Linked DNA regions of Homo sapiens: region 1 is linked to region 2. The links are contacts of gene promoters, found by promoter capture Hi-C in human tissues and cell types (Jung and others, 2019). All regions are on one chromosome and are shown on one strand. The core of a region is centred on a gene start or on the middle of the fragment in contact, and the rest is flanking DNA. Distances in the headings are between cores, read along the strand shown.

Region 1 (5,183 bases), core at 1,519-4,018, 180 kb after region 2:
AAAAACCTGGAGCCCAGGAGTGGCAACCCTAAAGAGTGACAAGAGATCAAGGGCACACTTTACTATCTTCATTTATTATTTCTTAGAAGCTGGCTGGTAACATACCAGACTCACCAACTGACACAGTCTCTATCTCCCAGGCTCTGAAGGCATCCATTCTTATCAGTTACTTTTAATAACCCTGAAGATACCCCAGCCACATTCTGCTGCAAACAGGCAAGTTCTGCCTGGTAGGCCAGCGTCCCTTAAGGTCTTTTCCTGGAAGAGCTGTTCTCCCCAGCTGCTTGGCTGTGGTTATTAATTTTCTTATTCACACAGTGATCTGCCTTTCTTTCGTTTGCTGAGGTCTAATCAGGTCTAATCACTCAGTACTTTTCCTCTTTCCTTTGTAGAACTCATGTGGTCTATTGCTTATGTGTGAATGGAAAAAGGACCAGGCTATCTTTTTATACAGAACTTCCTGGAAAAACCTTAGCTCTGGGACCTTCGATTTTCAGGTTTAAAGGAAAGAATTCGGGTCAATTATCTAAGTTGTTTAAAGAACATATTTCCAATTACAGGGACAAGAACAGTATTATCGAAATTGCAGCCACTTGCATACTACCTTTGTTTTCTGATATAACTACATACCACCTGTGATATTCTTCCTTGATATTTCACATTAAATTGTCTCAAGTCTACACTATCCTTACCTTAAGCAGCATTTGTAAAATCACAGGTTTGATGTGCTAGTTGTAAGTTTTTAAAAAAATATTAAAATTAAAATGTAATTATTAAAAAGGAGTATTTTCCTATCTGCCATCTAAAACTATCTCCTATACCACCATGATAGCCTCCCACTTTGGGAAACACTCATTTAGAATATAGATTTTGTAACTACATGAGACTAAATTTGCGATTTACATAAAGAATTTTACAGAAACAAATGTACTATTTCAACTTAGCCAAAGATGAAGTATTACTATGGTCAGCTCATAATAACTTTGGAAGTTATAAAAATTTAGCATATTCTAGAATAATGGAAAATATCTCCTTGCCTATAGGCCAGAACTTATGTAAAACAAGGGTAAATTTGTAGTCTTTTGCAAATCCTATGTCTTTAAAAAGCCATCTGAGTTCTTTCTTTAAAACTTTGTCAGTTATCCACTCAGTTTGTTTTTTGTTTTGAGACTGAGTCTCACTCTGTTGCCCAGGCTGGAATGCAATGGCTGCAATGGCACAATCTCGGCTCATTGCAACCTCTGCCTCCCGGGTTCAAGCAATTCTCATGCCTCCCTCTCCCGAGTAGCTGGGATTACAGTTGTGCATCACCACAAACGGCTAATTTTTGCATTCTTAGTAGAGACAGGGTTTCATCATGTTTGCCAGGCTGGTCTCAAACTCCTGACCTCAGGTGATCTGCCCGCCTTGGCCTCCCAAAGTGCTGAGATTACAGGCGTGAGCCACCATGCCCGGACTCATTCAGTTTTAAATAAATGATCATATCGGAGCATTCCAGTCTGGAGAGAACCAAAGGACATTGTTGTCCATTTGGTTTAACCATACAGGCTGAACTAAAACAACCTAACAAGTGCTACCTATCTTTTCAACCCCACCCTCATCCTCCATCTCCAGAAGCAGGAAACAAGCTCAACTGTGATCTATAGTAATCCCATTAATCTTACAATGAAGCATTAAATTAAACTGCCTAGCATAGATTCTTCTGCTACAAGGAAAACTGTATCTTGTAAGGACTGTATTTTATGTGGATAGATTTACTAAACAACGGATAGAAGAATACAAATAAGCAAAATAATTTGGCAAATTGTCAAATCTCCAGTGGGGGTGTTGTAGCAACTGATTTTTTTTTACTGTTATTATTTACTATAAAGATTTTAGTTACAGAGAGTTTAGTTTCTCCTTAGTAAGAGCAGTTCTCAGCCCGGGCGCAGTGGCTCACGCCTGTAATCCCAGCACTTTGGGAGGCCGAGGCAGGTGGATCACCTGAATTCGAGAGTTCGAGACCAGCCTGGCCAACATGGTGAAACCCCGTCTCTACTAAAAATTCAAAATTAGCTGGGCATGCTGGTACACGCCTATAATCTCACCTACTTGGGAGGCTGAGGCAGGAGAATTGCTTGAACCCGGGAGATGGAGGTTGCAGTAAGCCAGGATCATGCCACTGCACTCCAGCCTGGGTGACAGAGTGAGACTCTGTCTCAAAAACAAACAAACAAACAAACAACAACAAAAAAACAAAAAAAACTTTTTTTTCTCAAATGGTTCATGTTTCTATGGACTTTTCAAACCCATTCCTTTCTTTGTTAATTACAGGAAAAAATCTGACTTGAGCTAGAACCCTAGTGGAAGGCCTTTTAACATCCCTGATATAAATCACAAGCCTGGGCACTGGGGGGACTCTAAGGAGGACACATTCAAGTTAGTGGTAGAGACTGGGCCAGATCCCAAGTTCCTAACAACTCATTCAGTGTTTCCCAGCCTTCCCTGAGAGAACATGAAGATTCTTCTTCAGCAAATTCCATCTCTGGGTGTGATTTCAGTATCTGTCTCTTTGGTGTGCTGTCCTATTTCTCTAAAGCCACACAATTACAGAAGTCACTTAGCTCTTTGTAAAAAGCATGCCCTGGGAACAGCAGGAAGCTGTTGTTGTGCTACTATTTGGCTTTCTGACATAAAAGGTTTAGTACCCAAAAAGTCTATGGTCATTTTAAACCACTTGCATCTAAATTCCATGTTACATCTCATCAACCCAGATGTGGAAAGAAGTCAAGTGTTCCAGCAAATCCTTAAACAGCCAGATCATTAAGGGTATTTGAAATCTGCACTGAAATCCAGAATTATAGAACATTAGAACTGGAAGGGATCATAGAAATCATATAGTCCAAACTCCTCACTTCATCGGTTGCTCAGGGTCATAGAATCAGTTTGTCAGAGTAAGAACTAGAACCTGGAGGCCAAATAGTCCTCTTTTATTACCACAGTATTTTCTGAACCTCTTTTCTTCCCTGACAGCAGTGGCAGTGACGCCTGATCAACCTCTATGATGTCAACTACTTAGCATGTGGTGTCTAAACCCATGTCCTTAAGCATTGCCTCCTATTACCATGCAACAGGAGGCTTTTTGGTGAAGGCTGCTCAGCCAAGGCTAGGAGAGATCCCTTCTGCACACAGACCTTCTGTGCCACAAGGTGCAATACCTAGAAAGCTGGCTAATGAGAGAGGAAGTAAAGCACATCCCTAGGGCCTGCTGAACTGACAAAGACACAGTAGCAACAAGCAAAACAATAACCAAAACCACCCAAGCCTGAACTCCCTGTGTTACTGCTGTCAGAAGCACCACCCTACACAGAAGCAGGACTCAAGAACCCTCGGCAGCCCTTTCCTACCTACTGTACCTGCTCCTAACCCCAGGTACAGATTCCAGGCCTCCCCTCCCTCTCTGTGGGTTCAAGTCTCCATTCACTCTCCCAATATCATAACCCTCATTTCTCAGGGCCCCCCTGGGATCACCTCTGCATCTGACCAGCCCCAAGTGCAGCAAGCTTACCTGTCAGCGTCTCCGAGGCCCAGGGAGGTATTTCGTTGCAGGGTCTCCCGTACCACAGCCATCCCATCAGGGAGCCGGTTCAGGCGACGGGTATAGAGGCCAAGTCCACCATCAGTCATGTATCTTTAAAAGGAGAAGAAGATGATGCACATGAATGTCCAAAGCAAGTGGCTTCCAGGCTTGCATTCATATCCAGAAGCCTGTACAGCCGCCAAGTGCTCTAAGGGGGAAGAAACGGAGGATTCCCTGAGGCTCTGGCACTGATCACAGCCCAAGGATAACTCAGCTGCTGATCCAACCTAGAGGATCCCCAGCTCGCTAACAAAAAGGTGAAAAAAGAGAGCGAACTCAGCTTAATTAACCCAAACTCACAGGTACCTACGACGCAGACGGGAACTAGGGAATAAAATTAACTGTCACATGGATTCATGACATTCTTTTCAATGTCAGCGATTATACAAGCAGGTGTTTTACCTGAGTAACGGAAATGGAACTGACAAATCATTAGCAAATCATAGGCAATAATATTACAGAACAGTGAGTGGAAAAAGCAGGCAGGCTTTTGAGAGAGGGGGAAAGAAAGGAGAGAGGATAGATGAGTGGCCTTTGCCATCACAGGCGAGTCCCTTCCCTGGATGGTGAGTTTTTCACCCAGGCTATAGGACTATCACGGCCTGTGACATGTGGGAATATCACAACATGGGCATGAGAATTAGTGAGATAAGGAATATGAAAGTGCACTGAAATTTGTGTAAGGCTATATAAGTGGAAGACATTACGGTTGTCACGATCATGAGGTGAATTTCACCCTTGATACTGATGTTTTCAGGGGGTTGCCACAAAACTCTGAACAACACTAATGCTAGTTTATTCTTTTTTTGGTAATACTACAAAGCTGTCTTCTGATGAAATCAGTGCTGTTCTTGAGAGGGAGGATGTCTGGAACTTTCTGTACAGATGGCTGATTGTCTACCAACCAGACAAGTTCCTGAAAGCTTAGCCACTAGTAGGAGGTAGCTCAGTCCAAGGCAGCTGTACCTCATATCTACCTTGGCTTCCTCACAGCCCCCATAAAGGAGACTGGTTTTGTCATTTCCCTCATCTTCAGAGGAGAACAGGAAGGCAAAGCAAAACTTGGGCAGAGCCAGAAACCAAACTTGGATCCCTTCAATCCCTTATGGGCCCCATCAGATCACCCTGCAAGGTATCTGAAAATGCAAGCATTTTACATTTCAAATCAAGTAATATGTAGTAAGAGGACCAATGAGTCATTATTTTTCTGAAACAGGGTCAGCTGAGCTACGTCATGGAAAGCTTAATTGCACTTGCCATTTTAACTTTTGCATATATGGAGTCGACCCTGAGGGTTCCCAATCCTTGAATTTCTTCTACCTGTAGCTGGGGACCTTTTTAGGATATATTTTTCAAGAACAGAATTATGAGATGCAGACGAGGCTGCCCAGACCAGGAAGTTCAAGTAAGGGGCAGAGAAGAAAATTCTCACTGGAGTTATCTCATGTGAAAAGCACCTTCCAGAATGGGTAAGAGGAACCCAGGAAGCTTCTAAGCTACTGTGGCTAAATTCAACACCTCCAATGTTCCCTGCTCCTCCCTTTATGACATTAATGATCCCCAA
Region 2 (5,461 bases), core at 2,089-4,588:
TCACTCTGTTGGCTGCTCCGGCAGGGAGCATGGAGGACTGGGGGTCCGAAGCCTGCAAAGGGTGACCTTAGCGTTGCAGCCTTCCCGAAACGGAGACTTGCCATCTTTTCAGAGGGCGGGGAAGCTCACACCACTCTCTGCTTTATAGTGTCCGTTTCGCCTCGCTTGCTGGCCCTTCGCTTACCCGAGACATTCCAGGCACGGCTCGCACTGGAGAGGGCCGCGCTGCTGCTGCGACCGCACGGCGCCCGGGGCAGGAACATGCTCGCTCTCCCCTGCGCGGGGGGAACGAAACCCCCAGAGTGCGTTCCGACACGCTCTTTCTACTATCCAAGGCAGGTTTCGGCAGCTTTGGCCACCTAGGCCCGGGGAGCCCCAGCCGGATCTGCTGCGGCCTCCCCCGCAGCGTAGGCAAGGACCTTAAACCCCAAACCAGGGACTCCGATTCTCTCTTTTCCCCTCCCGTCTTCTTTTCTCTTGAAAGAGAAATAGACAGAAAGCTCAGCCTTGAGACAAAGAACGCGAGTGATTTCTCCGAAATAAACTTGAAGATAACGACATAACAGTGAATGGCAGGACGCACAAAACCCCATGGGCTCAGGTCAAATGGCATTAGTCACAGGTCTTAGCCGCAGCCGCCGCGCCGCGCAGCTCCTTGGGCTATCGCGGAGTTTGAAAAGACGCGTTCAAGGAGATCACTTAAAGTAAGATCCTTTCGTCCGATTTCTTGCTTCCTTAGGATTTATTTTTCCTTTCACGGGCGGCCAGCCCTCGCCCCCTCGCCCCCGCCCTCACTTTTCCTCTTTGGCGCTTTAGGAATTCTTTAGGAGGCTGTGGAGACCGACCCCAGGAAGCAGGGTCCACGTGGATCGCAGCAAGGGGTTGATCCACCCTCCAAAAAATGGCAGGGTAGACTTTTAAAAGCCGAGAAGTTAGTAGCAGTTAGTCTATAGTGAGGCAGAATGGCTGGGGCTTGGGGTGGGGGCTAGGGGTGGCATGAAGCCTGTCGACGGACAGGAAACGGTGAAAACTACACCCCGGCAAATGCCCCAACAGGGAAGGAGGAGCTGGGAAGGGCTCACGCTGGCTTCAAGTTCTTACCGTTCCCCCCTCCAAAAAAAAACAAAATCCAAGTTGATTTTGGCAAATATAGACTCTATTCTGATCATCCGGAAGACTTGGACAAGCGCTTCACCGGTAGGGAATCAAACATCCTGAAGCCCCCGGCGCGTCCTTCTGGGAACTGGCAATTGCCCAAGTCCTTAAGACTCGGGGAGAAAAAGGGGTGGGGGGCAGAGGGAAAGGGAGTGGGAGAAGGAGGGAGGTGGGCCTGAGGAAAAAAGTAAGGGAGAGGAAGGGAGAGAGCCAGTCTTATTGCAATGGGAAACTGTCTCATGGCAAGGTTAAAGTGCAGGTGTTCAGATAGCTTATGCTTTTCTCACCTATTTTATTGCAAACTTCAAAAAGGAACTTTTGACGTTCTTCGACAGATCTCCTTCTTCCGTTTCCAGGGGACTCCAATTAACTCCAGCAAGGCGCTTCCCATATTTAAATAGCCCCTTATTTAAAAGTTGTTTCTTTCCTGATTGGTTTTCTCCCGCTGCCCATGAGCATGAGCGGTCTTGGGCTCAGAAACTCCGCACTTACGTCATCTTCTAGCATTAATTCGCCTCTGGAGCTGGGCCCTAAATAACTTTTTAATTTGAATCAAGGGAGAGTTTTAGCCGGCTCCGTTTCTGGTTTAATGTGATATAAATCGCAGATGCACTTTTATTGAATGGTTAAAGCAGCGACATGGAGATCATCAACACAAAACACCCCGAACAAAACCATCGAGAGAAATAAAGCTGGTTAATAAGATTTTTGAGAAAGCTTTGTGTTAAAAAGCAAAAAGGAAAACCAGCTGAAGGTGACAGTTAGTTCATGGTTAATAGGATCAGGGCGGCCTGGCGGGGCTGCACACTTCTCTTTGGGGAGGTTCAGCCACACTAAAGAGATGAATGGGACATTTAACACATCTGTTATCTCGCCGAACAGAGAAATGGGGGGAATCGAGTCTTAGTACCACCTCAGCCCCAACCAGAGGAAAGCGAAGGGACTGTCTCCAGGAAGATTCTCCTTTGAAGCCCCACATTCAGGGGAGGCTTTCCCGGAGTGGACCAACATTCTTGGGAACCGCATCCCTTCCCTCTGGTTTTCACGCGTTTGTGCGTTGTAGTTAATTAAGAAGCTGCCAAACCTTGGGCCAAGTTAAGGGCCCCGCAAGTGGTAGGGTTCTCTCCAGACGACGTCTGGACCTTCGCTGCTATGGCTTAAAATGTCAGGGCTGTGAGTTTCAACTTAAACTGCCGAGAGCTCCCTGTGTTTGGAGAACGGCCAGCATAGCACTCACAGCCTTTGGATACCCTTGCCCGAGGCAGTTTCCGGTCAGCCTAAGCTCTTTGCAAGCGGAATCCTGCCGCTCGGCAGCCCAGCGCCGCTCTCCTCCGCTCCTCCCGCAAGGTGAGGTGCGGACAGCCCCTTGCAGAAACTCCTAGAGAAAATCGTTTTCCAAGTTGCTGGGAATTTGAAGGAGACTCGTTTTACTTTTCAGGTATCCACCAACGCTCAAACTCAACCAGTCTCCCGAAATGAAATAACTCCAGACCTCTCCCCACTCTTACGGACACACATCCAGTGGCCCCAAAGCATCCGTTTCCAAGTTTCCCTGAGTCGTCAGAATGGGACTTCTAACACTGATTTCACTCACCCCTACATTTGCTTTATGCTTCAGCTGGAGTAACGGATAGGGCTAGAGACCGGAAAGGGAGTATATTTTCATGTCCACTGACTTGAAACTTTTCATTGCCCTACCCCCACAAGAGGGAGGGCAACTTTGCTGATAGCCTGAAGATGTATTTCTATGAATATTTATTGATTTATTTTCCAGGCTTAGCAGGGGAGCTGCAAATAAATTTAGTGGGTTCTTTAAATAATTCCTTTTCTATGAGGCAAGATGTCATCTGAAACTTCTAAATAGGCATTTAATTAGCCCGGGTGTTGCTTCGGAACAAAAACCTTTGGCGAGAGCTTTGGGGGCGCACTGTATTGCAAAGAGGCGGTCGATATGCAAAATTGATGCGCGCGGGCCTTTGTTGCCGGCCCATTGTGCGGGCCATGCTTATGAAGACTAATCCAATCATAAATTGCACCCCTGCGCCAATCAGAGAGTCCAGAGCCTCCGGCGAATGAAGCTCGAGTGGAGAACTTTGTTGAACTTCATTGTCAGAGCTGTCACTTTTCAAAGTGCTTTAGCGGGCGGGCCACTATAAAACCATCACCTCGACGAGAGGACCACGGAGGACTCGCAGACGCCCAAGTGGGATTGTTACTTGGAGACGTTTGCTAAGCCCAAGAGAGAGGACACTGTGGGGGCGGGAGGGGCGGGAAGCGAGGCGTTTACCCTCCGGCCACTGAAAGAAGGGTTATTTCGCCCGCCCGCGCCTACCATGATGTTCCCCGGCCTCCTCGCGCCCCCCGCCGGGTACCCTAGCCTCCTGCGGCCCACGCCCACCTTGACGCTGCCCCAGTCCTTGCAGTCGGCATTTTCCGGCCACTCCAGCTTCCTGGTGGAGGATCTGATCCGCATCAGCCGACCCCCCGCCTACCTGCCCCGCAGCGTGCCCACCGCCAGCATGTCGCCGCCCAGGCAGGGGGCCCCCACGGCCCTCACCGACACGGGGGCCTCGGACCTGGGCTCCCCGGGTCCCGGCAGCCGACGGGGCGGCTCTCCGCCGACTGCCTTCTCCCCTGCCAGCGAGACGACGTTTCTGAAGTTTGGAGTGAACGCCATCCTCTCCTCGGGGCCCAGAACAGGTAAGCGAGGTCAGAACCCTAAGGGCCCATTCAGGTACTAGGCATGCGCGGAGTCATCCTGGCCTCAGTTTCCTCTAGCGAGCGGGCCCCCACACACACATCGGTGCACACACAATACGCACGAACTCTGAGACCCTACGTCAGGCAATGTGAGAATAGTCCAGTCAATTCCGGGGAAGAAAAGCCTCCAGGCTCGCCCCATCCTCGGAGTGAACTTGAGCACACGCAGTCGGAGACTGTGCGCAGTCATCTGGTGCAGTAACGCTGAGCGCACGCTCCTGGACGTCTGCGTTTCTGCCTTCGAGCTTCTAGGAGACAGTTTTTTTTTTTAAACTCAATATGATATATTTATTGGATTAGCAAATATTATAAATCTGCAATTTCTTTCCTCCCCACTCAGTCCTATCTCGTTAGTGCCTAGGATGGAGATTGGGGTAGAGTGGGACGGCGCAGAGAATTACGTTGGGGAGAAAGAAAAGAGTTTTACAGATAAGACAATGTTGGGAAGATTTATTTTACCCTGTCAACGTATAAGAAAGATGTCTTTGAAACCAGATGAAGGGCTAATTATATCGTGTGTTCAGTGTGCTATACAATAGGCAAGTACGTAATCAGATTCTTTCTGTCTCCCTCTCTCCTTCTGTCCCCCCTCCATCGCCCACCAGAAACATCCCCAGCCTTGCTCCAGAGCGTCCCTCCCAAGACCTTCGCCTTTCCCTACTTCGAAGGGTCTTTTCAGCCTTTCATCAGATCTTCTTATTTCCCAGGTAGGTCTCGTCCCCCTTCTTTGCGCGAGGCAGGGCGGCGCCCCAGCCCCGGCCCATCGCTCCCTGCTCCGAAGCCGTATTTCTCCGTCCACCCCTCGGGGTTATGCTCTGGTTCAGAGGTTGCGAGGCGTATAACATTCATGAATCCGTCGCGCCAATTTGATGCCCTATTGAGCACAAGCAGTGACTGCTTGACACTTTGCACCAATTCCCTGCTCTACAAATTAGCAGGAATTGTCATGGTCCCAATTTGAGGCGGTTCCCTTCCCGGCGAGGAGCTGTTGGCATCCCTTCACGCCGCCGTTTTCCCACAGAGTCAGTGCACTTGGCCACGATTCCCCACAAAGGTTTCAGCACCATGACCAATTGGTCAGCTCCTCCGGGCAGCCACACACAGACCGGCCCTAGTCCCTCCACGCCGCCGAGAGACACCTACCAGCCGGGGCTAATTTCTCTTTAAGACTCATTCAGGGCTTCGGGCTTTTCACAAGACCACATGGGGTGCCCTCTTGTGTGGGATGCCTAGGGTCGCCCAGGGGGAGGGGGATTAGATCCTCCCCCAATCCCAACCTATTTCCAGCCTGATTTCCAAACCCCTTCTCATACTCCTTTCCCACCCTGTATTATAAAATACCGTTGATCTTGCAAAATAAGAAGCAGTTAGAAGAAAGCCCATAATTGTGTCCCAGCCTAAAACAGCAACACCTTAGGCAGCTTCCACCAGGTTTTCTTCCTGTAACCTCACTGATGATTCAAACTATGGCTCAAAAACTCTGCCACTGGTCAAAACTAAAAAGGAGGCAGGAGAGTCCCTATACAGAGAAGAAAAACTGGGTATG

The links. The method cuts DNA at HindIII sites, captures the fragments that hold promoters and counts their contacts. A contact is called where the count stands out against the background at its distance.
Region 1: a fragment that was not itself captured here is called in contact with the fragment with the promoter of DBX1 in region 2 in 4 of the 25 tissues and cell types used here (bladder, dorsolateral prefrontal cortex, heart right ventricle and 1 more).

Annotation. Positions count from the first base shown.
Region 1 is chr11:19,982,612-19,987,794 of GRCh38, reverse strand. It overlaps NAV2 (neuron navigator 2), which reads right to left. Exons shown (of 38, transcript NM_145117.5): 11 at 3,548-3,670. Among named protein-coding and RNA genes, the nearest start is that of NAV2-AS3, 3.8 kb to the right of the region's middle. The HindIII fragment of the contact is 7,575 bases long and covers 1-5,183 here.
Region 2 is chr11:20,158,352-20,163,812 of GRCh38, reverse strand. DBX1 (developing brain homeobox 1) reads left to right here and starts at 3,338. Exons shown (of 4, transcript NM_001029865.4): 1 at 3,338-3,855; 2 at 4,521-4,622. The coding sequence starts at 3,489. RefSeq lists enhancers at 331-832, 1,957-2,456, 2,457-2,958. The HindIII fragment of the contact is 9,910 bases long and covers 1-5,461 here.